Linked DNA regions of Homo sapiens: region 1 is linked to region 2. The links are contacts of gene promoters, found by promoter capture Hi-C in human tissues and cell types (Jung and others, 2019). All regions are on one chromosome and are shown on one strand. The core of a region is centred on a gene start or on the middle of the fragment in contact, and the rest is flanking DNA. Distances in the headings are between cores, read along the strand shown.

The links. Contacts are between HindIII fragments. The study calls those that stand out against the background at their distance.
Region 1: a contact is called between a fragment that was not itself captured here and the fragment with the promoter of LIN28B in region 2, in 2 of the 25 tissues and cell types used here (H1 embryonic stem cells and dorsolateral prefrontal cortex).

What each region holds. Positions count from the first base shown.
Region 1 is chr6:104,870,151-104,873,180 of GRCh38, forward strand. No RefSeq gene overlaps it. Among named protein-coding and RNA genes, the nearest start is that of HACE1, 12 kb to the left of the region's middle. The HindIII fragment of the contact is 5,361 bases long and covers 1-3,030 here.
Region 2 is chr6:104,955,470-104,958,389 of GRCh38, forward strand. LIN28B (lin-28 RNA binding posttranscriptional regulator B) reads left to right here and starts at 1,638. Exons shown (of 4, transcript NM_001004317.4): 1 at 1,638-1,791; 2 at 2,630-2,817. The coding sequence starts at 1,782. RefSeq lists enhancers at 651-1,588, 1,589-2,526. The HindIII fragment of the contact is 4,416 bases long and covers 846-2,920 here.

The DNA of each region.
Region 1 (3,030 bases), core at 108-2,607, 86 kb before region 2:
AAGAAAAACAGTATGGGCCAGGCAAGGTGGCTCATGCCTGTAATCCCAGCACTTTGGGAGGCCATAGCAGGTGGATCACTTGAGGTCAGGAGTTTGAGACCAGCCTGGCCAACATGGTGAAACCCCGTCTCTGCTAAAAATACAAAAATTAGCCAGGTGTGGTGGCATGCACCTGTGATCCCAGCTCCTCAGGAGGCTGAGGCAGGAGAATCGCTTGAACCCAGGAGGCAGAGATTGCAGTGATCTGAGATTGTGCCATTGCACTCCAGCCTGGGGAACAGAGGGAGACTCAGTCTGAAAAAAAAAAAAAAAGAAAGAAAGAAAGAAAAATAGTATCATTTAGCTTGTGTATTTAAAATTATTTTAATTTGTATTGAGTTTATTTTTCATTTCAGTGAAATGCTGCCTTCTTTAAACATTCCGTTTTAATTAGATAAAGGGTGTCAGTGACTTCATTCCATCATCAGTAACTTAGTTTCAAATTCAATACATACATGTATGTTCAAAATGCAAGGTAGAAGTACACTGAAGAATAAAAACCTGCACATGCACCCCCAGAATAGACATTTTTTTCTTATGCTCAAGAAGTTCAACTTCCAAAAAGAGAGTTAAGACATGTACAAATCTGACAGTAATACACAGCAAACTGTGGAGAGTCCTTCAAGTTGTACCAAAAACCCTGAGGAGGTGAGAAAGAGAATCATCACTTCAGTGTAGTAAGGGAGTAGAATCAGGGAGATTTCATGCCTGAAAGACGTCATATTTACACATGGGGAATAGAAACAAGCAGGACAATCTGATTAACAACAAATAATAACAGCTGATACTTGTTGAGCATTAATAGCTGATTTAGCTGAGGCTCATGGGTAATTGGGGAATTAAGGCTAACATATGAGTCAGATTTCAGTTAGCCTTGAATGACATGCTTAGCAGCTTGAAGCCAGTTCTATAAGCAGTGAGGAGCAACATAATTAGGTGGCAGTGGGAAAGAGTGGCAACAGCTGGATGAGTTAAGAGGCTATTGAAATTATATAAGTGAGTGGATACAAGACACTGTATTAAGGTGAGGGTGAAAAAGAAAGATGTATGTGAGCATACTGTAGATGGGCAGGATGCAGAATCTGGAATCTAGATGACCAATGGGATAAATGGGTTAGAGTGATTTGGGATGACTCCAAAGTCAGTAACAGGAGTAGAGTAGTTCTTTTGAGGGAGAAAGATTAGTTCAAAAGTTGTTAAGGCCCTTTTTAACAGATTTTTATGGAGAAAAACAATTATTTTAACTTGAAGTCATCCATTTCTCATAAAGCTAGGTTATAGGCATTGAAATTAGTATTATGTATGTTTGGTTCTGTCTTTCCTCCACTTTGGTGCAGTAGACTTATTCATGAACACGTGTTACTGTGTATTTCAGTATTTCACTATTTATGTGAACATGTTATGTTTCTTTTTTTTTTTTTTTTTTTTTTTTTTTTTTAAGACAGAGTATTGCTCTGTTGCCCAGGCTGGAGTGCAGTGGCGCGATCTCGGCTCACTGCAAGCTCCGCCTCCCAGGTTCACGCCATTCTCCTGCCTAAGCCTCCCGAGTAGCTGGAACTGCAAGTGCCCACCACCACGCCCTGTCATTTTTTTGTATTTTTAGTAGAGACGTGGTTTCACTGTGTTAGCGAGGATGGTCTCGATCTCCTGACCTCGTGATTCGCCCGCCTCGGCCTCCCAAAGTGCTGGGATTACAGGCATGAGCCACCGCACCCAGCCAACATGCTATGTTTCTAACTCCAAATCATTAGGTAGCAGAATTATGAGGAGCCTTGTCAAGCCTGATCTGAAGCATGGGATGGTTCTATACCAGATTCATTTAACAAATGCACCTGTCATCTGAGTACTGGTTTTCCACATCTATTAGTATGGAATTAATTTACATAAAATCATCACTTTGAATTGCCTATGAAGAATTGATTTGTTCACTTTTTCTTCAAGACAAATAGTGCAGTGAAAAAGTAAAAGGTCTAACTGCCCAGGGTACAGTGGTTTAGGAGAGCGGGGACATGGACAGTCTAGTGCTGACCTTGACACCAAAAAACTGTGTTTCACTTATACTGTCTAGTTTTAAGTTTCCTCCTCTGCAAACTGAGATTTATTAAACAGTATTTCTTCAGCTTTAACTGACAGAAACGCAATTTCAGCTAGCTTATGTTAAATAAGAATTTATTAATACAGTAAGATGGCTCACGAATGCCAAGGGCAGGGGGCACCTTCAGAACTCTCTGGTCTCTGTCAGAGTTATCTTCCTATAGAACCACTTGAAGCATTTCATTTCCCACCTCAGAATCTCTGCAGCTGTCCCTTTTTCTCCAACATTTAAAAATCTAAACTCCTGGCCAGAACTTCCAACACTATGTTGAACAGGAGTGGTGAGAGAGGGCACCCCTGTCTTGTGCCAGTTTTCAAATGGAATGCTTGCAGTTTTTGCCCATTCAGTATGATATTGGCTGTGGGTCTGTCATAAATAGCTATTATTATTTTGAGATACGTCCCATCAATACCTAATTTATTGAGAGTTTTTAGCATGAAGAGCTGTTCAATTTTGTCAAAGGCCTTTTCTGCTTCTATTGAGATAATCATGAGGTTTTTGTCTTTGATTCTGTTTATATGCTGGATTACGTTTATTGATTTGCATATGTTGAACCAGCCTTGCATCCCAGGGATGAAGCCCACTTGATCATGGTGGATAAGCTTTTTGATGTGCTGCTGGATTCGGTTTGCCAGTACTTTATTGAGGATTTTTGCGTCGATGTTCATCAGGGATATTGGTCTAAAATTCTCTTTTTTGTTGTTGTGTCTCTGCCAGGCTTTGGTATCAGGAAGATACTGGCCTCATAAAATGAGTTAGGGAGGATTCTCTCTTTTTCTACTGACTGGAATAGTTTCAGAAGGAATGGTACCAGCTCCTCCTTGTACCTCTGGTAGAATTCGGCTGTGAATCCTTCTGGTCCTGGACTTTTTTTTGGTTGGCAGGCTATTAATTAT
Region 2 (2,920 bases), core at 388-2,887:
ACAGCTGAAAATAACTTCTATTTTTTATACATCCATTTTCCAATCTGAGCCAATTAAATTTATATTTAGTTGTTTAATATGGGGAGGGAGTATAAATAGGTGTATACAGCTTTTTCCATAGCTCTTCGATTCATAATCCCTACATTTTAGCTTGTGTGAAACAGTGCTGGAGTGTGGATGTGTTTGAAGAGACTGGGAGGGGGATTGCTGGCATGGTGGGGGAGGGTCAACTCGGTAGCTTTGTCGAAGGAAGTGGTATCTGAACAGTTAGTTTCTTGGTAAACTGCTTGTTTAAGAAAATGGGGGGTGGGGTAGGCAAGTCTGGTGGTGCATTTTAAGGTTTTAAAATAGCGATATTTTATATTTTAAAGGAAATAAAGTCTTTTTAGTTAATCTATAATATTTATTATAGTATTCGATAAGGGCAGAAATACTGTTGCCAGCATCTTGTAATCAATCGTTTGAACCAGTTTGAAAGGTAAAGGGGGTAGGCATTTTGAAACTGGGGGTCAGTTGAGGAAGGACAGTAGGAGCTTCATCCGTTGTTACATTTTCGTTTATTCAACTCTTCTAGCCATTGGTAGTGGACTTTTAAAATGTCAGGGTACAAGTCAATATGATATGAATTTACCTTTTTTCTCCCACTTGTCCTTCTTTCTCCACCCCACCCCCTGCCCGCGCCGGCTTTTTTTCTCTCCCACCTCTTTCTTTGACTCTGCTGCCGCCTATCCTGGCGGCTCCTCTTCACCTCCCCTGCCTGGCGATCCCCTCCCCCTCCTGCCCTATGTCCTCCAGCTCTTGGGGAACAATCGCCACTGATTGAGGTTCACTCTATGTTAGGCTGGAAAACTGGGCTGTTATTTAGGAAGTCATTAATCACATCTCCTCCCCCGGAAAGAGATGGCAGAGAAACCTGTGAAGTACAATTCCTTACCAACCCCCTCTAAAATTTTCCAAAATGGTTTACCTAAACACAATTTGACTATATGAAGGTGAAAACGATTTTTCTAGTAGGATTTTATTTTAAATTTGAAAAAATTTCGGGCATAATCAGGTAATTTATGTGCCTCTGCCTTTTCCTAGGTGTATGTTTTCATTATCTAAAGTTTCATGGGGATGTAATTAGGTTTAATTAGATCTTTTATAAATTATATATTTTCCTCTAAGAATTGAATTAAATATGAAATTAGCGTTCCAAGCAGGTTTACTGCCATGGAATAGCTGAATTCTTAAGGGGAAAAAAAGCGTTAACATCGGTTGTTTTATTTAAACGACCCCCTCCCATGATTTTAGTCAGGCTTGTGTGTAAGGCACGCGTGTGCACATATATGACTGCCTTTTTTTCTAAATCTATGATTCACAAGGTCCCTCCATTGTGTTTAAGTAGAAGCACGAAATCAGCATTCTGATTTATCCTAAAGAAGCGTTCCAAATTGTCTTTAAGATAACATGTTTGAGTTTTTCGTGTTCATTCATAAATTATTTTGATGTCAGCATAGATGAAATGGCGATTGGTTATCTCTTCCTCTTGCCAGCCCCTTAAGGATACGAGGTGAAATTAGTAGCAAGAAAGCATGTAATTGACAAAGTCACGTGTGCTCAGGGGGCCAGAAACTGGAGAGAGGAGAGAAAAAAATCAAAAGAAGGAAAGCACATTAGACCATGCGAGCTAAATTTGTGATCGCACAAAATCAAGATGTTAGATTGATGCAGAAGATCACTCCGTTCCAAAGGGAAAGTTTTCATCTCACGAGTTTGGAGCTGAGGGCCCGTGGGGCAACATGGCCGAAGGTTAATTTTCTTTTCTATTGTTTTACTGTGAATTTCTTTCTTCTTTTCTCCTCCCCCTCCCCCTCTCCCACCCTTCTTAGACCGTCCCCCCCTTCCCCTTTTACCCCAATACTGGGCATTACCTCCCAACCCCCCATCACGCAGTGGGGCTTTCTGCAAACCTATTGTTATAGATCTCCAAAAATGTTTTGTACCGCCCACACTGATTCACAACTTGAAAAGCTTTCAGGGGGCTATTGTTTGAATTGTGTGAGTGTGATTAAGCGCAGTTTCAGTTAGTGATTCCAAGAAAACTTTTATACACCTGCCCCCTCCCCCATTCCACCCCAACTTTAATTGAAAGTTATGGGGGGGAGGGGAATGCACATTGCAAATAACGCTGGATTCAGTGCTGCCCCATGTGCCTTAACTAGTAGCTCTAAACCATCTTCACGATTTCTCTTTCCTCCTCGTGCCCGCCGGAGAGAATAGTTTCGCTGAAAATTTCTCTTTGTCAATGGGATCAGTATTAAATCAGCAATATACAAGTAAAGTATCGCATGCTGTAATGTAAAATGTGGCTGAAAAATGGAGTTAAATGAATAAGTACACGTATGTATAGAAACGTGGAAGTTGGTGTGATCGATAGAACAGTGTGGCTTCCCCCTCCCCCGCTTTCCTTTTAACCCTTTTCATTTTAAGTATTTTCTGTGGAGAAAAGAAATCAAACCATTAAAAAAAATTTTTTTTTTCTGTTACCCTTCCCCCCCAACCCCAGGCAGGCAATTTTTTTTTTTTAATCTTTGAATGCACATTGAATGGGAATACAGACTGACTTTTTTGTCCTGTTCCTTCTCAGGCGGGGCTAGCAAAGGTGGTGGAGAAGAGCCCGGGAAGCTGCCGGAGCCGGCAGAGGAGGAATCCCAGGTTTTGCGCGGAACTGGCCACTGTAAGTGGTTCAATGTGCGCATGGGATTTGGATTCATCTCCATGATAAACCGAGAGGGAAGCCCCTTGGATATTCCAGTCGATGTATTTGTACACCAAGTAAGCCAAACTTTTTTGTCCCCCTCTTCATCTTTTTCCATGTGGAGGAGCTGATCGGTAGTTATGCCAATAGACGTACGATAAGATGTCCTTCGGTATATTG